3 separate regions of the Homo sapiens genome follow, and all the other regions are linked to region 2. The links are contacts of gene promoters, found by promoter capture Hi-C in blood cells and fetal thymus (Javierre and others, 2016). All regions are on one chromosome and are shown on one strand. Each heading gives the region's core, a stretch centred on a gene start or on the middle of the fragment in contact. The rest is flanking DNA. Distances are from core to core; before and after follow the strand shown. Region 1 overlaps UBE3C (ubiquitin protein ligase E3C). Region 2 holds the start of NOM1 (nucleolar protein with MIF4G domain 1). Region 3 overlaps DNAJB6 (DnaJ heat shock protein family (Hsp40) member B6).

What was found. Contacts are between HindIII fragments. The CHiCAGO score rates a contact against its expected background, and 5 or more counts as called.
Region 1: a fragment that was not itself captured here is called in contact with the fragment with the promoter of NOM1 in region 2 in 1 of 17 cell types (megakaryocytes); the score reaches 6.5 in megakaryocytes.
Region 3: a contact is called between a fragment that was not itself captured here and the fragment with the promoter of NOM1 in region 2, in 1 of 17 cell types (total CD8 T cells). The highest score is 5.6, in total CD8 T cells.

Annotation. Positions count from the first base shown.
Region 1 is chr7:157,209,223-157,211,922 of GRCh38, reverse strand. All of the region lies in intron 13 of UBE3C (ubiquitin protein ligase E3C), which reads right to left. Among named protein-coding and RNA genes, the nearest start is that of UBE3C, 72 kb to the right of the region's middle. The HindIII fragment of the contact is 1,728 bases long and covers 573-2,300 here.
Region 2 is chr7:156,948,341-156,951,040 of GRCh38, reverse strand. NOM1 (nucleolar protein with MIF4G domain 1) reads right to left here and starts at 1,329. Exons shown (of 11, transcript NM_138400.2): 1 at 317-1,329. The coding sequence starts at 1,303. RefSeq lists silencers at 909-958, 1,239-1,588 and an enhancer at 1,649-2,177. The HindIII fragment of the contact is 6,978 bases long and covers 1-2,354 here.
Region 3 is chr7:157,378,398-157,381,097 of GRCh38, reverse strand. The region is part of intron 5 of DNAJB6 (DnaJ heat shock protein family (Hsp40) member B6); the gene reads right to left. Among named protein-coding and RNA genes, the nearest start is that of DNAJB6, 43 kb to the right of the region's middle. The HindIII fragment of the contact is 2,083 bases long and covers 249-2,331 here.

The DNA.
Region 1 (2,700 bases), core at 187-2,686, 260 kb before region 2:
TGTGCTTCCACAGGACCGGCCTCTGTGGTTTGCTGTTTCCCACTGTCATTAGCTGAATGCATGTCTCCTTCACTACGTGGTGATACTGCAGGAACAGGCACCCTGTGTGAATTCATTTATGATCCCTTAGCATAGAGCTGTGTCACTATGGGTGGGATGAATACTGTGAGTGTTCAAATAACTGAGAATAAAACACTCTAACCTATGAAAGTCATGAAGTATCTGGTATGCACTGCTGCTGTCAAGGGTTAACCAAATTTTATATAGCCCTTAGTTACCACTTGTTAACCCATTTATGCCTAGTGTTCCATTACTGGAACGCTAAGCTTGTGGGATTTATATTCTACTGCTCAAGGTCATTGCCAAGGCCTGATTTTTCACACAAAAAATTCGCAACCTCTGGCACAAACGGGTTAAAAACTGGAGTATTTTGAAAAACAGTATTCTTCAGCACATATTTAAAACACTATAAAATTACTGCATATAGCATCCACTTTAGTAGTCAAAAAACAAAAACAAAATCAATCAAAATCTTCAATAACAGAAAAGGATAAGGCACAGCGCTACAAGCTTTGGATCTCTTGGTTGTAACATAGTCAAATGGTCGCATGTTAGGATTATATTAACAGGGCACTGCTGTTGCTTTATTACTTTTTAAAAATAGCTTTTTGGAACTGAAAAAATACAACTTAACCACTAAGGAAGTAAAAAAATCACTCATAGTATGGCTCTCTCTCTCTCTCTCTCTCTCTCTCCAGACATATGGATAATGAGGGCATGGGAACCTTCCTCCTCATTCCCTGCCACTTCCTCCTGTTTCCCTATCACAGGAGGAAACTCCTGTTAAGTTTGGTGGATGCACACAGACATCTCAAAACAGGATTTCCTATCTCATCAAGCTAAAGTAATTATAGCTCTAAATTACACTTCAAGAGGAGTTTATAAATTTGATAAATGCATAAACTGTTTTAGCAGTGTCAAGACAGGGCTTAGAAAGTGACCTCAATTCTTACAGTGACAAAGAAAGATGACTCTATCCACTTAAAATTCTATGCTCTGTGACCAGCCAGCAGAGCCTCTCACACAAATGACTTTGGGAGGACCATGATAGGACTGAAAAATGAAAATGGTCGGTGTTGAAGGAGTCAGGTCTCATCGTTTGCAATTCTGTCAAAATCAATGGAAGGCAGGAGATCATGGGCTAAACGCTTCTGCGTTCTTTGGTTGATTCTACCTCGAATTCTTCAACTCAAATTTGGCACAACAATAATATGAAAAATGCTGATACAATTTGTATTCTTTTCAGAAGGGGAGTGTAGAATAGCAGCTGGTTCTACCATCATATACATGACCTCATCTGTAAAACAAATTATAGTATCTTTCTCACAGAACTATTGTATTAAATGAATATATGCAAAACTCTTAGAATACTGCCTAAAACACAGTTAACTACAGAGGTGTAAGTTCATACAACTTCATAATAGAGATAGTATTTTCTTAAAAGAACAGCTAACAGCAGCTGATTACTCAAAAATTATGCAGTGATTTTTATTTTGGGGGCTCAGCTCAATAGCAGGTAGCATAAAATGGTTTGGGGGACAGGTGACCAAAGAACAGAAATCCTTTAAAAAAAAAAAGGTCTTTAAACAATTCTAAACTCAAAAGGTCTTACAACAACTTGATTTCAAACCTAAAACAATCACCACCACCAACAAAAAAAAGGTAAATTTTCACCCTCTTTTTTTTTGGAGAGAGAGTCACCCTACCGCCCAGGCTGGAGTGCAGTGGCGCTATCTCGGCTGACTGCAACCTCTGCCTCCCGGGTTCTAGCAATTCTCCTGCCCCAGCCTCCCTAGTAGCTGGGATTACAGGCGTACATCACGCCCAGCTAATTTTTTGTATCTTTAGTAGAGATGGGGTTTCACCATCTTGGCCAGGCTGGTCTCAAACTCCTGACCTCGTGATCCACCCGCCTTGGCCTCCCAAAGTGCTGGGATTATAGGCGTGAGCCACCACACCCGGCCTTGCCCTAACTCTTAAAACTTTCAATGATGAATAAAGTGGCAGGGAGTCATTTTGAGGCATAAAAAAATTCTGTACAAACTTTTCATTTAACGCTTAACCAAAACAAAATAAGGCCAGGGTGGAAAATATCTTATATGGCATTATTAAGTTCAGAGATTTCTACATACTAAAGATAAGCCTGTCATGGAAATTATGAAACTCTCAACAGATGCCATAAAACAGTGAAATTATCTGATATCATACACAACACCTGATATTGCACATCATGGAAAGCTTTATTAACAAAGACCCCAGGGTTTAATCAAATATTGAAAGGAAAACAAATATGCTACCGTTAACACCCACATCCAGGAAAAGCTTATGTAAGAATTATAAGTTTTAAATAGGTGAGACTGCTTATTTTTTAACATAGAAAAATTGCAAATTTGTCAATCTTTAAGAAAGGATATAGTAAAGGCTTACCATGTGACCGTCCCAGTTTACTTAGGAATACAGAAATAGGTAATTAAAATAAATTGTGCAAACATATATTACATCAATCTGCCCAAATTATAAATTCAACGATGCATTAGGACTGTATTCAGTGCAATCAAAACATTATCAGTTACGGCTGCTGCTGCTAATGCTCATGCTCCTAAGAGAAATGTGTTGTAAAACCAGGCAGAACGGGCTGGA
Region 2 (2,700 bases), core at 80-2,579:
CCTTAACAGATGAGGTAGGGTTAACAGGTTTAGAGACCTGGGCTGGTAAACACAGAATGAAGATGCTGCACTGTGGAAATGGCCCTTAAGTCCCCGGGATAAAAATGTCTCTATATTGCTTTTCTCCTAAACTTTACATTATGAAAATTTAAAAACATGAAAGAAGACCGAATAGAGTAACGTACTCGATTTACTCACATTCAGCTGAAACCATTATCAAGACACCAAGTCTGTGTCATTTCTGCCTCACGCCCCATTCCCTGTCCCGTTATTTTGAAGGAAATCCCAGAGGGCCTAGAGAGTGTTCACACGATACCTTATCCGTTATGTCACCGTCCTCCGAGGAATTTTCACTCTTTTCTTCATCTTCTGCAAAACGGACTCTCTTCCCCCTCCTTTTCTCCTGCGCTCCCTTTTCCTTTTCTTCCCCCTGTTCCTCTTCTGTATCCTCGTCGTCGTCCTCGCTCTGCGCTTCTGCTTCCTGCGCCTTCTTTTCCTTTTCTACGTCTCCCTCCTCCTCCTCCTCACTTTCGTCCTGGGAGTCACTCTCTAAGTCACTTTCGGGGAGTGTCTGTCCGGCATCTTCCTCCTCCTCACCACTGCTGTCGTACAAGCCGCTATTTTTCCCAGACTCCAGGGCTCCCAGAATATAGTCAAGACCGTCGCGTGCAAAGCTCAGCGGCACGGAGCTGCTGCCGTCCTTCTTTTTGCGCTTGTTCAAACCGAGGCAACGCTCCAGCTTTCGGATCTCTCGGTCCTCCTCCTCGTTCGCCGCTAAAAGCGCCCGTTTCCGGGCAGCGGCGGTGGCGGCTGCGGAGGGTCTGGTCTTTGCGGTGGCGGCCGTGGCCTTGGCCTTGACCCGGGACGGCCGCGGCTTCCTGGGAGGCGAGGGGTCCCGACTAGGGGCTGGGCGGGCGCGCTCCTCCGTGTCCTGCCGGTGACCGCTGGCTTCTTCGGCTCCGCTTCGGCCTCCCAGGCCGGGACCCTGTTCGGGGCCCGCCGTCCTCTGCAGCCGGCGTGCTTTCCGCAGGTGCCGCTTCTCCTTCCTCAGTTCCTTACGGCTTTTTCTCCCTCCCGGGCGAAAGCTCACCGGGGCGCCGCGCCCCTCGCAACCCCCGGGAGCCTCGCCTTCCGAAGTCGCGTGCACGAACTCCTCCACCGCTAGCTTCAGCCTCTTCAGGGCCTTCTCCCCACCGCCAGCAGGACCGCGGCGCGGCCCGCGCCCGCCTCTGCGCTTCATGCGGACCACGCGTCCCTGGGAGCCGCCCGGGCCGGCCTCTCCCGCGCTCCTGGACGCCGCCATCTTTCGAAACGCGTGGACGCACGACTTCCGGCCGAGGCGGGACTTCCGGGGAAGAGGCGGCTGCGCGGGGCGGGCGGGCGGCGCCCCCTGCTGGCCGGAGGGCGACAGCGTGCAGAGCTGCGCGGAGCCGGGTGCGGGGGCAGCCGGGCAGGTGGCGCCCGGGGCAGGCGCGCCCGCGGGTGGGCGCCGCGTGGACGTCAGGCTCGCGATGAGCATGGAGGTGCCTTCACATTTAAAAGGGAAATCCGGCCGGGCGCGGTGGCTCACGCCTGTAATCCCAGCACTTTGGGAGGCCGAGACGGGTGGATCACCTGAAGTCAGGAGTTCGAGACCAGCCTGGCCAACCTGGTGAAACCCACCCACCCCCCTACAAAAATTAGCTGAGCGTGGGGGCACGCGCCTGTAATCCCAGCTACTCGGAGGCTGAGGCAGGAGAATCGCTTGAACCACGGAGGCGGAGGTTGCAGTGAGCCGAAATGGCGCCATTGCACTCCAGCCTGGGCGACAGAGCGAGACTCCAAAGGGAAATCCTCGCGTATGATGGAGGGGAGACTCCGCGCGGGTCGGCGCGGTGCCGGAGGTTGGCGGCGGCGACGACGCTGGGATGCGCGGGCCCCAGGTTCGTGTCCGCCCAGGACCCAGGAATGCGACCTTATTTGGAAATAGGGCCTTTGCAGATGTGGTCGAGAGGAGCCCTCGTGGGTTAGGACTGGCCCCAGAGCCAGCGTTCTCCTGAGAAGCAGGCTCTGGATACGGACCAGGGAGACGCCTGTGGCCCCCAGGCGGCCGAGGACCCCTGAGGAGCCGGCCCTGCCCAGGCTGGGTTTGGACGCTGGGCCCCGAGGGCAGAGCGTTTGAGGTTCCTCTTTACTGGGTAACTTGAACCGGGAAGCGAACGCAGAGGCCGCGCAGTTTGCGTCTGGATTTTTGGGAAGCCCGGAGGCGCAGGAGCAGCCTCGCCTAGCAGTGAGCTGGGGGAAGACGGGGCTGCTGCTGTGGGGTTCTCGGCCTGACCAGGGGCCGCTTCTCTTCCCGGACAGCTTCAGAAGCTTCATTTCCACAGAGTTCCCACCCTTGACTTAATTTAATTTAATTTAATTTTTTTTCTTTTTTTTTTCTTGAGACCGAGTCTCACTCTGTTGCCCAGGCCGGAGTGCAATGGCGGACCAAAGTGCTGGGATTACAGGCAAGCCACCGCGCCCGGCCCGTCCTTGACTTTAAAATGATTTAATTTTTGTCAACTTGTCAGCTCAAAATGGCATCTTGTCATTTAGTTCCTGATGAGAGTGGGTGTCTTTGTTCACTGGCCATTTGTATTTCCTCCTCTGTTTATGGCCTTTGTCCATTTTCCTTATAGGTTTTACGAATTTTTTTAAATATAAAATTTATTTAATATA
Region 3 (2,700 bases), core at 41-2,540, 430 kb before region 2:
GCTACTCTGGAGGCTGAGTGGGAGGATTCCTTGAGCTCAGGAGTTTGAATCCAGGCTGGACAACACAGCAAGACTTTGTCTCTACTAAAAAAAAAAAATGCAGTGACTAGAGAAAAGCAGCACCTGAGGTTGACTCTGACCACAGTTTGAAAGGACCGACGTACAGGTGGGCAGCCAAAACCCTGAGACGCTGGGTACCCCCAGGACCCGCAAATAGTAAATAGTGAGAAGCAAAGGCTGAGGAAGCTTCCGCAGAGCAGGGAGGGCAGAGGTCCACACCGGACTACTATAGAGCTCGTCAGAATGAAACTGGCCAGTTGGCTTTACCCAATGCCAAGCCCAAGGCATTGAGTCCCAAAGAAACACTGGGAGAATTGGTCACTGGTGACTTTTTGGAAAAGGTGGCCAAGAGACAGAAGAGGAAGAAGGCATGCACAGCCAGTGCCCGGACACCCCACGCACCAACCTGCCCCTCCGCCCACAAACCAGCGTGTGAGGTGGAGACCTAGAGGAGGAGTGCCAGAATGGGGATGCCAACAAGAAGTTACTCAAACGGTTACTGACTGTGCAAGTTACTGCCCACATTCCACAGTCAATGCCCCCCACCCATAAAAATAATGTAAGATGGTCATAGGTACTTTGCAAACAGACCTTACCGTCCCCCACTGTTCTATTCAAAGACAAGAAAGAACAAAAGCAAAGATGTTAAATCATAACCTTTTATCTGAAACTAGGAACATTTTGTGAATTTCTCTAGGACACAAAAACTTCATCCAATTCAAATAAAAATCCAAGCATGCTATTTAGAAACTTTCTACTTTGCAGCCATAGCCTGCACACCATTGTGTCACTTAGGTATTCTATCTCACGTATCTACAACATATCCTCCCAGGTAAAGAAACAAACATTACAAATACAGTTAAAACTGATTATGCGGTAACTCTCTTCATCTCCCCTAGGAGGTGACCGTTAAAAAGCATTTCCGGGAGGGTGCAGTGGCTCACAGCTATAATCCCAGTACTTTGGGAGGCCGAGGCGGGCAGATCACTTGAGGTCAGGAGTTTGAGACCAGCCTGGCCAACATGGTAAAACCCTGTCTCTACTAAAAATACAAAAAAGTTAGCCAGGAGTGGTGGTGGGCATCTGTAGTCTCAGCCACCCAGGAGGCTGAGGCACGAAAATTGCTTGAACCCCGGAGGTGGAGGATACAGTGAGCTAAGATCACACCACAGCACTCCAGCCTGGGCAGCAGAACATGAGTCCATCTCAAAAAAAAAAAAAAAAAAAAAAAAGGCATTTCTGCATTTCCATAAATTGAAGACATTAGCATATATCTGTAGTTCCAGCTCCTGAGGAGGCCAAGGCAGGAGAGATCCCTGGAGGTCAGGGGTTCAAGACCAACCTGGGCAACATAGCAAGACCCCTTCTCTACAATAAATTTAAAAATTAGCCAGGTGTGGTGGCACACCATCTTTAGTCCCACCTCCTTGGGAGGCTGAGGCAGGACTGCTTGAGCCCAGGAATTCAAGGCTGCAGGGAGCTATGATCACACCTGTCGACAGCCACTGCACTCCAACCTGGGTAAGAGTGTGACAGTGAGAAAGGCACTCATGTGGCCAGTCTCACTGTCCATATCTGAGTCCCTAAACCAAGTTATTCTCACTGTCCATACCTGAGTCCCTAAGCCAAGTTGTAGAGTTAAACTCTACGTTTACATCCTTCCGCAATTTCCCATTTATCAATGCTAAAACATTGGTTTAGTCACAATTTCTTTAAATCCATGGCAACTAAACCCTTAGAAGTTGTCCACAAGGCACTGAGCTTTTACATGCATCTTGAACCCGTGTCTCAGTGGTAACAGTACTAACCAAGTGATTTTAACTGGTTTGCATTCTAAGCTAAATTAAGACAATGACATTCATAATTATATCATCATCTACAGAAGCTACCTCAAAAGCTGGCTGAGTACTATGTTATGAGAAGGCCAATGCTTTTCCGTTCCATTTTCTTGTATGAAAAAAATCTTTATCTTGTTTATTTCTCTACTGACATTTTGTAGCTTAAATATAATTTTTCACAATTCAGGTATTCACTGAATTTTAACTCGTATAATTTCAAATATTAAAATCACAAATTACCCTAAAAATGAAGTCTCATTTGTAACAGAAACAGTGCTAAGAAACATTAAAATAATTTCAAAATTTATAATATTTAAAGACCAGTTAAAAGTTGCCACTTGAGATCAGACAAGTCCTTATTTCAAGTAAGAGCTACTTATCATGTGCTGGTTTCTGTCGTTTTGAAAAGCAATCTAGAAGTATGTATTAAGCTTTTAAAACCTTCAGCCCCCAAAATAAAACCAATATTTTTATTATAAAAAACCCTCAACCCAGCAATTCTACGTCAGGGAACTCAACTCATCCCAAAACGTGGAACTAAGTTGCTGAGCGTGCGTAACCATGCACAGGCAAGCAAGCATGTGAAGTGCAGACTTGAAGTGTTCGTGGCTAGCAGAGCTGGAGAGAAATGCAAGGAAGCCTGTGGGCATCACAACTATACAGCGCACGCTACAACGCACAACCATACAGCGCGTGCTACAATGCTCCCGTGGGGCTCCGACCGCGGGCATCACAACTATACAGCACGTGCTACAACGTTCCTGTGGGGCTCCAACTGGGGTGGAGGGGCAAGACCTCCTCC